Linked DNA regions of Homo sapiens: region 1 is linked to region 2. The links are contacts of gene promoters, found by promoter capture Hi-C in blood cells and fetal thymus (Javierre and others, 2016). All regions are on one chromosome and are shown on one strand. The core of a region is centred on a gene start or on the middle of the fragment in contact, and the rest is flanking DNA. Distances in the headings are between cores, read along the strand shown. Region 1 has its middle 190 kb from the start of RPL34-DT. Region 2 holds the start of LEF1-AS1 (LEF1 antisense RNA 1).

The links. The method cuts DNA at HindIII sites, captures the fragments that hold promoters and counts their contacts. A CHiCAGO score of 5 or more calls a contact.
Region 1: a contact is called between a fragment that was not itself captured here and the fragment with the promoter of LEF1-AS1 in region 2, in 6 of 17 cell types (activated CD4 T cells, naive CD4 T cells, non-activated CD4 T cells and 3 more). The highest score is 13.9, in activated CD4 T cells.

The regions. Positions count from the first base shown.
Region 1 is chr4:108,426,093-108,430,310 of GRCh38, forward strand. No RefSeq gene overlaps it. Among named protein-coding and RNA genes, the nearest start is that of RPL34-DT, 190 kb to the right of the region's middle. The HindIII fragment of the contact is 5,329 bases long and covers 259-4,218 here.
Region 2 is chr4:108,164,327-108,168,925 of GRCh38, forward strand. LEF1-AS1 (LEF1 antisense RNA 1) reads left to right here and starts at 3,199. Exons shown (of 3, transcript NR_029374.1): 1 at 3,199-3,507. LEF1 (lymphoid enhancer binding factor 1) reads right to left here. Exons shown (of 12, transcript NM_016269.5): 1 at 3,229-4,599; 2 at 771-837. The coding sequence starts at 3,441. It overlaps LOC124900752, which reads left to right and starts at 3,613. Exons shown (of 2, transcript XM_047416528.1): 1 at 3,613-4,576. The coding sequence starts at 4,174. RefSeq lists silencers at 2,560-2,799, 4,556-4,599 and enhancers at 2,677-3,178, 4,206-4,295. The HindIII fragment of the contact is 8,163 bases long and covers 1-4,599 here.

The sequences.
Region 1 (4,218 bases), core at 1,673-4,172, 260 kb after region 2:
TCTGGGGTTAAAAGAAAAGACTGAACAAGAGCTGAATCTCTGAGTTTCTGTGATCGTCATTCTTGAGTCACTGTAAGAAAATGATCCTTTCACTTTTCTAGATTAAAAAAACTGAAATTACATGACTCAAACAAGGCCACAAAGTTGATTAGTGTGCTAAGGCATACAAATGTGTTTTATTTGGTCTATGCAGTGTTTCAAAACCATTTGAATATGAATAGCTTTAGGTAATGCTGCTTCTTTCTTTTGATTATAGCAAGCTTAGTGCACACAATACTTTTTCAACTCCTGGCCCACGGAGATATTTATTTGGAATCATTGATTTAGGTAAAGTAGCAGAAGTGAAAAACTGTGTACAGAGGTTAAGAAGTCTAAGATTAAATGAAGAAAAACCACTCTTTGTGAATTCCGAGAGGGAAGAAAAGTTCTTTTCCATGTGGGTTAATTTCTTTTTCTAGCCAGGACCATTGCATTGCATAAATACTGCAGGCTCTGTGCATGTCACCATATCTGTAAATGGAGCCCTGGAATTATTCAGTGCACAGACTCGCAGCCAAATGCAGCAGCTCTGACTCTCCATCAGTGTCATATTGTAAAAGTCTTGTAATTTATAATGCTGTTTAATGTTCTGTTTTCATAAAGTGTGGTTTTGAGTCACATCTCAATTCAAAACCACTTTCAGGCATCATCACTTCAATATCTATTGAACATACGTACCAGACTCTGTTCTCTCATTGATTCCTTACACTGGCCTTAACCAAAAGTTCTAATGGTATTTCTCATTTGTAAAATGAGAAAGTTGAGACTTAGAGAAGTCAAATAATTTGCCCAAGGTTATGCTATGGAGCAAGGATTTGAATCTACATAGTAAGGAACCTTTTGTGAGGGGGAGTATATTTATGAAGACATTGGAGCTAATTACTTTGTTTCATTTAGAAAAAACAATCTATTTTAATCTATAATACTCATTGATTTTTTACACCAATTAATTACTACATATAATTTTGAATATTATCACTAATGTTTGATATCTTTATTCACTTACCTAGGTGAAAGTAACTATATGTAATCTCTCATTTTTACGGTATGCCAAATTTTACTTTTCAAATTACATTATTTTCTTAGTATTTTGCAATGTAGACAATGTTTCAGTATTTGTCATGCATACACAATGTTTCAATATTTGTCATGAGAACGTTTTTGTGTAATGGTTTATAGACAGAAGTCAGTGTTTAAAATTTCATATTATCCTAGTTGTCTGTTTTGTCACAAGAGTAGATGTAGATTTTTTTTCTTTTTGAGAAGGTGTCTCGCTCTGTCGCCCAGGCTGGAGTGCAGTGGCACAATCTCAGCTTACTGCAACCTCCAAATCCCGGGTTCAAGCAATTCTCCTGCCTCAGCCTCCCAAGTAGCTGGGACTACAGGCGCCTGCCACCACACCCGGCTAATTTTTTGTATTTTTAGTAGAGACGGGGTTTCACCATGTTAGCCAGGATGGTCTCAATCTCCTGACCTCGTGATCCACCCGCCTCAGCCTCCCAAAGTGCTGGGATTACAGGCGTGAGCCACCATGCCCGGCCAGATGTAGATATTTTAAGCTGTCAAGAGTCTGGCAAAATTTTGGCTACTTGGATACTAATTATATTAAAATCTATTAGCTAATCTTCCTATTTAATCTCCTCCTGCAATGGGCAGCATAATCAAACGGATTTCCAAAGAGGACATATTGAAGCACAGAGGGTTTTAGGGTCTCTCTCAGGGAAGTCAAGTGCTTAGGGAAAACTGGAGAATTATAGCATTTGAAAGGCGAAAAAGGAGTTGCATCCAAGAAAACAGTGTCAAAGCTGTTGAATTTAGTCCCTAAAGCAGCAAGCATGCAAAGGTTTTCTCAGATTAATACTATGGATTTTGCTGATGGCTGCTTTTAAATCATCTTTTGAATGTGCAACTGAAAATACAGCTTTCTTTCTCAAGTTTTCAAAAATAAAGACCTTTCCTCTTCTCAGTAAACACATCTTCCATGAGTAAGCTGGACATATTTCACAATCTTTAATAATTCTCAGATCTGCATCTCCAGTGAGACCTCTCTCCTGAAACTCAGAGCTGTGTCCAACTATTTACAGTATACTTTCATTTGAGTGCCTTAATGGAACCTCAAATTTTTCCAGCGCTAAGCTGGCTGTCACCATCTCTCCCACCACACATGGCAATAGCAACCACAATAATGACAACCACAACAAATCAATTTTACCTCATGTATTTTCCATTTAAGGCCTGGAAAAACCAACCACTCAAATTAGCTCCTTCCTTCAATCTACACATAGAGTTGATTACTAACTCGTAAAGATTCTATTTCCTTAATTTCCTTAATCTTTCTCTCATCTATCTCTGTCTCTTGCTCCCAGGGCCATCTTGTATGCTTGTCCTCCTCCCTGCAATGATTATGAGAGCCTTGACAACAGACATTGTCTAACTTACAGCTAAAACCTTTTTTTTTTTAATTTTTTTTTTGTGTGTGTGGAGACAGGGTCTTGCTCTGCCATTCTGGATGGAGTGCAGTGGCACAATCATGGATCACTGCAGCCTTGAACTCCTGGGCTCAAGTGATCCTTCTGCCTCTGCCTTCTGAGTAGCTGAGACTACAGGCATGCACAATCCTGCCCAGCTAATTTTAAAAAAAATTGTAGAGATGGGGTCTTGTGATGTTGGCCAGGCTGGTCTTGAACTCCTGGCCTCAGGTGATTCTCCCCCATCAGCCTCCCAAAGTGCTAGGATTACAGGTGAGAGCCACTGCACCCAGCTATAACTGAAACATTTAGTCGGCCCTTAATGCACATCATTTTTTTCTTAACCCCGTCATCGAAAGGTTTAAAAGACTTTTGGAACTTTTAGATTTATCAGAAAGAATTTTCCCTAAACTTTGTGACTACATGAAAGTTATCTTTCAAGTATGTACATACATTTATTTTTGAACCACTTTAGTCATCTGTGCTTCTTGGAAAGGCAATTTGTATTTGGTCTGTCTCCAGGCATGGGCCTTGGGTGTGGTGTTTTTCTAATGGTTTTCCTCAACCATTTCAGGGATAGAACTAAGCCCTAATTGTTGTAAGATATCCATTGTACACAACGAATTACCTTCTCTTCTATGCATATTCCAGGATAGTACTAGCTCTGTGCCATCTTGGGAGAACTGAGAAAATAGTCACTTAAATCATTGTCTGTTTTGTGGTTCACATGAGAAACTCCAATTGAGAAAAGCTGCAAGGTCTCAAAAAAGGTCCTTAGGAAATATTTCTCATAGATTACCAGAGATTGTGATTTTCTTACCAATGGGCTAATGGCCCAGTCTCACTTTTTCCTTGCTAGTTTATCCATTCATTGCCTCCTGTCCCAGAAATCAAAACACACACACATGCGCACACACACGCACGCACACACACCCCAAAACAATCCCACTAGCCATGGATATGATGTTAGCAAAACACCTTGCTTTTATCTTTCAAGTCCTCTTTAAGCATTCTCTTTACCAATATTTAGACTCAGAGTTGGAAATTTAAAAAAAACATCTGAAATCTCTACTTGATTTGGAAAATCTTTTTCCTTGGAACTAGGCTGGCATGAAAGGAACAGGTGTCATGGAAAGCTGTGTTTTCTTTTGCTTCTCTTTGGGGAGCAATAGTTAAGAGCTGTGATGGCAGACATGAAAGTAAGCCCAGCTCTTTACAGTTGGCCTCCTTTGAAAGGCCTTTCCTTGACCCCTATTCCCCAGGAAAAAAAAAAAGTTGCTAACAGGAACATCACAAGATTCCATTGATGAAATGTGTTGAACCAAACCATGTATGATGACAACTAGTGGGTGGAAAACATTTCCCCAAATCAGAACTGGGTATCTACCCTCCACGTTACTTCACTGGATGCCAAAAGGTTATCTGTGAGGAACTAGGAAAGGAAGTATATTTGAAAACATCACTGGAACTTGTATACAACATCTTAAGGTGTTTGATCCTTTTATGAACTGTTGACAGCTTTTCGCCATTGAAGTCTATATGAGATTTGCCAGCCAAGTGAAAGGAGGAAGCAGGGCCAGAGTGCTTGACCAAGGAACCCCTAAGAGCTGGTTAGATCACAAGACATGAGATGACCAGGGAGAGGAAATGGCCCAGAATTCCATGAAATGCTCAGGCATCTGTATCAGCAGTTTCATCAGACCTATTTCGG
Region 2 (4,599 bases), core at 1,949-4,448:
ACTATCTTGTAGCTGAGGAAGAAGCCTAATATATAATTCTCTTCCCTGCTCCTGGTTGACATATTGTATGTAAAAACACTTCATTTCAGTTAGGCCAATTGTTAAGTAATTAATGGAAAACAGATAGGCTGACAAGAAATCCCTAAGGTTACTTGATTCTTTTAAAGTCACAAAGAATTCTCCTTAAGTCTAAATACATATGTATGTAATTTTAAAGTTTTTAGCAAGAATCAGAAATAGGGAGAAAGGGTATCATTTCTGATATGCACATTCCTAATTATAAGTTTTATATTTTTACAAGTTAGATTCTGCTCTGCTCATTTACTGCCGGCCTTTTCACTGTAATAAGGAACAAGAAACAGCAATTTTGCAAGTGAAAATCCACTCAAAACTATTCTGGTTGGAAAATAAATCGATATATACTGTCGTTCTTCTTAATAATATATTAAAAATACTAAAGATCTAAGCTAATTAGGATTTAAGGTAAGATGAGGAAGAGAAAAACTCATTGTAGACATTCCCTCTTCCCAAAGAATCTGGAACCCACCTGAAATCCAAGGGTCCCTAACTCATTCAAAAACAGTTTTTAAATTATGTAATATATATTAGAGGTAAGCCATAAGTTTCCTGCGTTTTCTTTACCATTAAAATAGTGGGCATAGTCTGACCTAGTCCCAGTTTCTTGAACTCAAAAGTAACAAAACACACCTATTTATACAAATTGCACCCCTTATCTGCTAAAGTCAGAAGAAGTAGAATGGGTGTCTTACCGTCATCGGGGTGTTCTCTGGCCTTGTCGTGGTAGGGCTCCTGAGAGGTTTGTGCTTGTCTGGCCACCTAACATCATGAATCCCCACACCCAAAAGAAAGAAAATCACCTTAGAGTTTGTGACAATAATGGTACAAATGTGTGTGCGCTGGTAATTCAAAGGAAGAGGTTTAGGGGCAACTCTGTTTTATACTCTGAGAGACATACGCTAGTGTTTAGTACTGCATAATCCTTTTCTTGTCAACATGTATTTTTGAGTGATTATTATCCACCCGGGACCAAAAACGTATAAATAATAACAAAACCAATAAAAATATAGTTAAATTTGGGAATGATCCACATGCTGTTCTGACTGCTGTTTATTAAACCATATCAAGGCTCCTTGGATGCCTAATATTACAGGAGTAGGAGTTAATGGGGTTGATGGTTTCGATAGCCTCTTCAACCACTGTTCACTTCAATCAGATCTGATTAAAAGAAGGCTGAAATATCATTTTGCAACTGAAAATGGCATTTAAACATAAACAAGCCAACCACTCAGATGCGGTCTTAAGGCAACTGCCCTGAGCGCAGTTACAGCAGAAGCTCCACTCGAGCTTATAACCTACTATGGCTGGCTGAGTGCAGGCTTACAAAAGTAGAACGATTCTGTGGTTAAAGGGAGGAAAATTAGAGAGTCAGGTTATAGACATCTAAAAGGTAGCCCAGTTGATATCAGTTTTGGTAATCACCATCCACCCAGACAGCCTCAAACACGTGCAAATCAGTGGTATTACTCCTTCACCCTCAGGCCTCCTCATGCCCACTTAACACCCGAGTGCTCTCGGATTCGAACGCAGTGTCCTTCACCCGGACCAGAAAATTGTGGAGAATATGAAGTGGGTGGCAAAATTATTTATGGACTAAGGCAGGACTAGCAAAATGGGTAGAAAGAGAGGCTGCTCTACAAATAGGAGAGTTTGGCAAAAAGCCTGTGTTTTGGATGTTATTCGGTTCTCTGGACGTGTGTCCTCCCTTTGACCTCCTTTTCCCAGCACACAGTAGTCACAAATCTTTTACGCGGGGTTAGGTGCACCCTACCCCCGCCCCCAGCCCGCTCAAACTGGATTCAACGGGTAAAGAACACCATTCTGTTCTCTGAACGCAGGCCCCCAGCCTTTCAAAATTCGTACTCACCTCTGCCATTGGGATAGAGAAGGCAGATCTGAGGTGTTCTTAAACGCGCTGTTTAAAACCCAAAATGTCCCCGCCCTCAAAACCACACACTTTCTTTTTGGGGGTAGAAAGATGCCATTTAAGGAAAAAAAGGTATATCCTCCAAGTTTCTTTGGAGGGAAAAGGCGTTGGTTAAATCATTCGGGTGTCAGGACTTTTCTACCGGATTTCCTCCAGAGGGTTTCCCAGTTGTGGAACAAGGGTGACCAGTGGAGTGTCGGGTATCAGGGTCCATCCGCCCCCTAGACCAGCTCTGGACTAGGCTTCAAACAGCCCTCCAGCGCGGCCCTGCTCCGCGCTTTCTCTAGCCAGCACCCACGTGTCTCTATTTACTCTACTCAGGTTACCAGCTCTATCGCCCGCAGCGGGCCAGAAGACCCGATAAAGCGCCTTCCACCCTGCAGGACTAGTGCCCGGCTTCCGCTGCTTCTCCGCCTTTCTTCTGCGTAGATTTAAGGCCTGATCCGGTCCCAAACCCCAAATAAAAGTTGTGGGTTTGTTTCCAAGTGATGGCGGTTGGAGAAAACTAGAGTTGGGGGCGGTACAGCCAGGGTGTACCCTTGCGGTGGGTCGGCTCGGCGCACCCACAGCTCCCAGCTGCTAGCCCAGGCGCTGGGGCCGCAGGGACTGAACCCCGCACCGCCCCCGCAGCCCGGGTGCGCGCCCCATCGGCCGGCCTGCTCCCCGCGGCCCGGCTCACCGGTGGTAGGGACGGCCCCGCCTGCCCCAGCCCACGCCCGCCTCCCCTTCCTCCCGCCTGTGGCTCTGCTCGTCTCCACCTAAGCCTTTGGTGGTTTAACGCACTTTTGCAGAGACATCTACCAAGAGATAGCGTGTGCACTTTGTTTTCCGTCCCACGGAAGAATTTATCAGTAGCGTTATTCAGCCCTACTCGCTTTAAAGCACGGCACCCCTCAGCCCAACAAAAAGACCGAAGGCGAAACATTGTGGGTTCCTGCCCGCGAACCAACCGTTCAGCCACCGAACCCCCTAAACTGATCCATTTGGAATAAGTTACCCTGCCCCTCTACCTCCCATCCTACACACACACACACACACACACACACACACACACACACACACACTGCGGACCGGGGGCCCAGCTACGCACACACCCCAAAACAAACGAGGGATCTACTCGGGACCCTCAGCCGGGCGGCCGGGCGCCTTCGTTCCCTTCCTCCCTCTCTGAGTTTCCCAGGGACCCGCCACGCCTCTCGGAACTGGGGCAGCGGCCCGCTCACCTCGTGTCCGTTGCTGGCCGGGATGATTTCAGACTCGTTCACCAAGGAAGACTTGATGTCAGCTAAATCGCCTTCCTCTTCGGGATGACTGATCTCGGCGAAGATCTTTTCCTTCTGAGGATCGCCCTCGTCCTTGAAGGGGATCATCTCGTCCGTGGCGCAGAGTTCCGGGTCCCCCCCGCCGCCGCCACCTCCTCCGGAGAGTTGGGGCATCCCGGCGGCTCTGTAATCTCCGCTCCGCTGTGGGAGCACCCGCGCAACAGCAGGAAAGACAGAGGGGTAACTCAAGGGTGGGGGAGGAAAGGAGAGTTGGAAGGGTTCGTGCAGCAGGACAGCGGGCGGAAGCGGGGCGGGCGAGCGCGGGGCCGCCGGCCGGCAGCCGGAGCAGCTGCCGCGGCGCCCGAATCCCGGCGGCCGCCGCGCTTTCCCGCTTCGCGGAGACCGACGCAGGCGCCCGCCCCCGAGGCCGAAGGGCACTGGGCGGCGAGGGCTGCGGTAGCTGGCGACTCCGGGGGCGTCTGCGCGGCGCGCGCTAGACGAGGCTGCCCCGGCGGCCACCCCGCGACCCCGCGTCGCCGGGATTTGCGCGCGGAGAACGCCGGTTCTGGAGGGAGCACGCCTCCCCAAAGTGCAGAGGAGGGTCCGGCGGCGCGTCTCCGCGGAAACCCTCTCCACTGTAGTTACCCCGGATGCCGACTTAGTAGTTTGTTTTCCGAGAAAAGAGAGGGGATCTGGGCAGAAGGGCCCCGTTTGCCCCAAAAGAAGGTGCAAGGATCAGAAGATAACGAAACGTCCACTTCCTGAAGGGTGGGAAAAAAAGAAAAAGAAAAAGGAGCCACCCACGCTGGAGATGTCCGTTTTAGATCTTCTTATTTTCTTCCCTTTCGCTTCGGTTTTTCTTCTCGAGGCTCATTTAATCTGCTAGAGAAGGAGGAGGAGCAGAAGATGGGGGCCGAGGAGGAGGGGAAGAGAAAGAGAAGTTTGCCAAGAATAAAGTTTTTGCCGGCAAGCGCGGGGACTCCGCAGTGGAGGGCACTGCGGAGTCTCGGGGAGTCACAGCGGGGGCCTCGGGCCCAAATGCCTCTGCCCGGAGCTCGAGCCGACACACACACTCAGTCCGACCCCTCTTTGTTCCCGGCTCGAGTTTCTCAGCCTGGCTCGCCGGCTCGCCGCTCTGCACGCCTCCGCCGGCCAGCTCTGTCAAAGCAAAGAGCTGCGCCCCTTGAGTTCGCCCGGCCGAGGGGAGGGGACGCCCCGAGCTTGGCCGCGTGCGAGGCTCCGGGCGCGTCCTGGTTCCTCGGCCCGAGAGCGCGCAGCCCGGGTCCCTCCTCCGCGCCCTGCCCCGCAGGTGAGCGGCTGCGCCTCCCCACT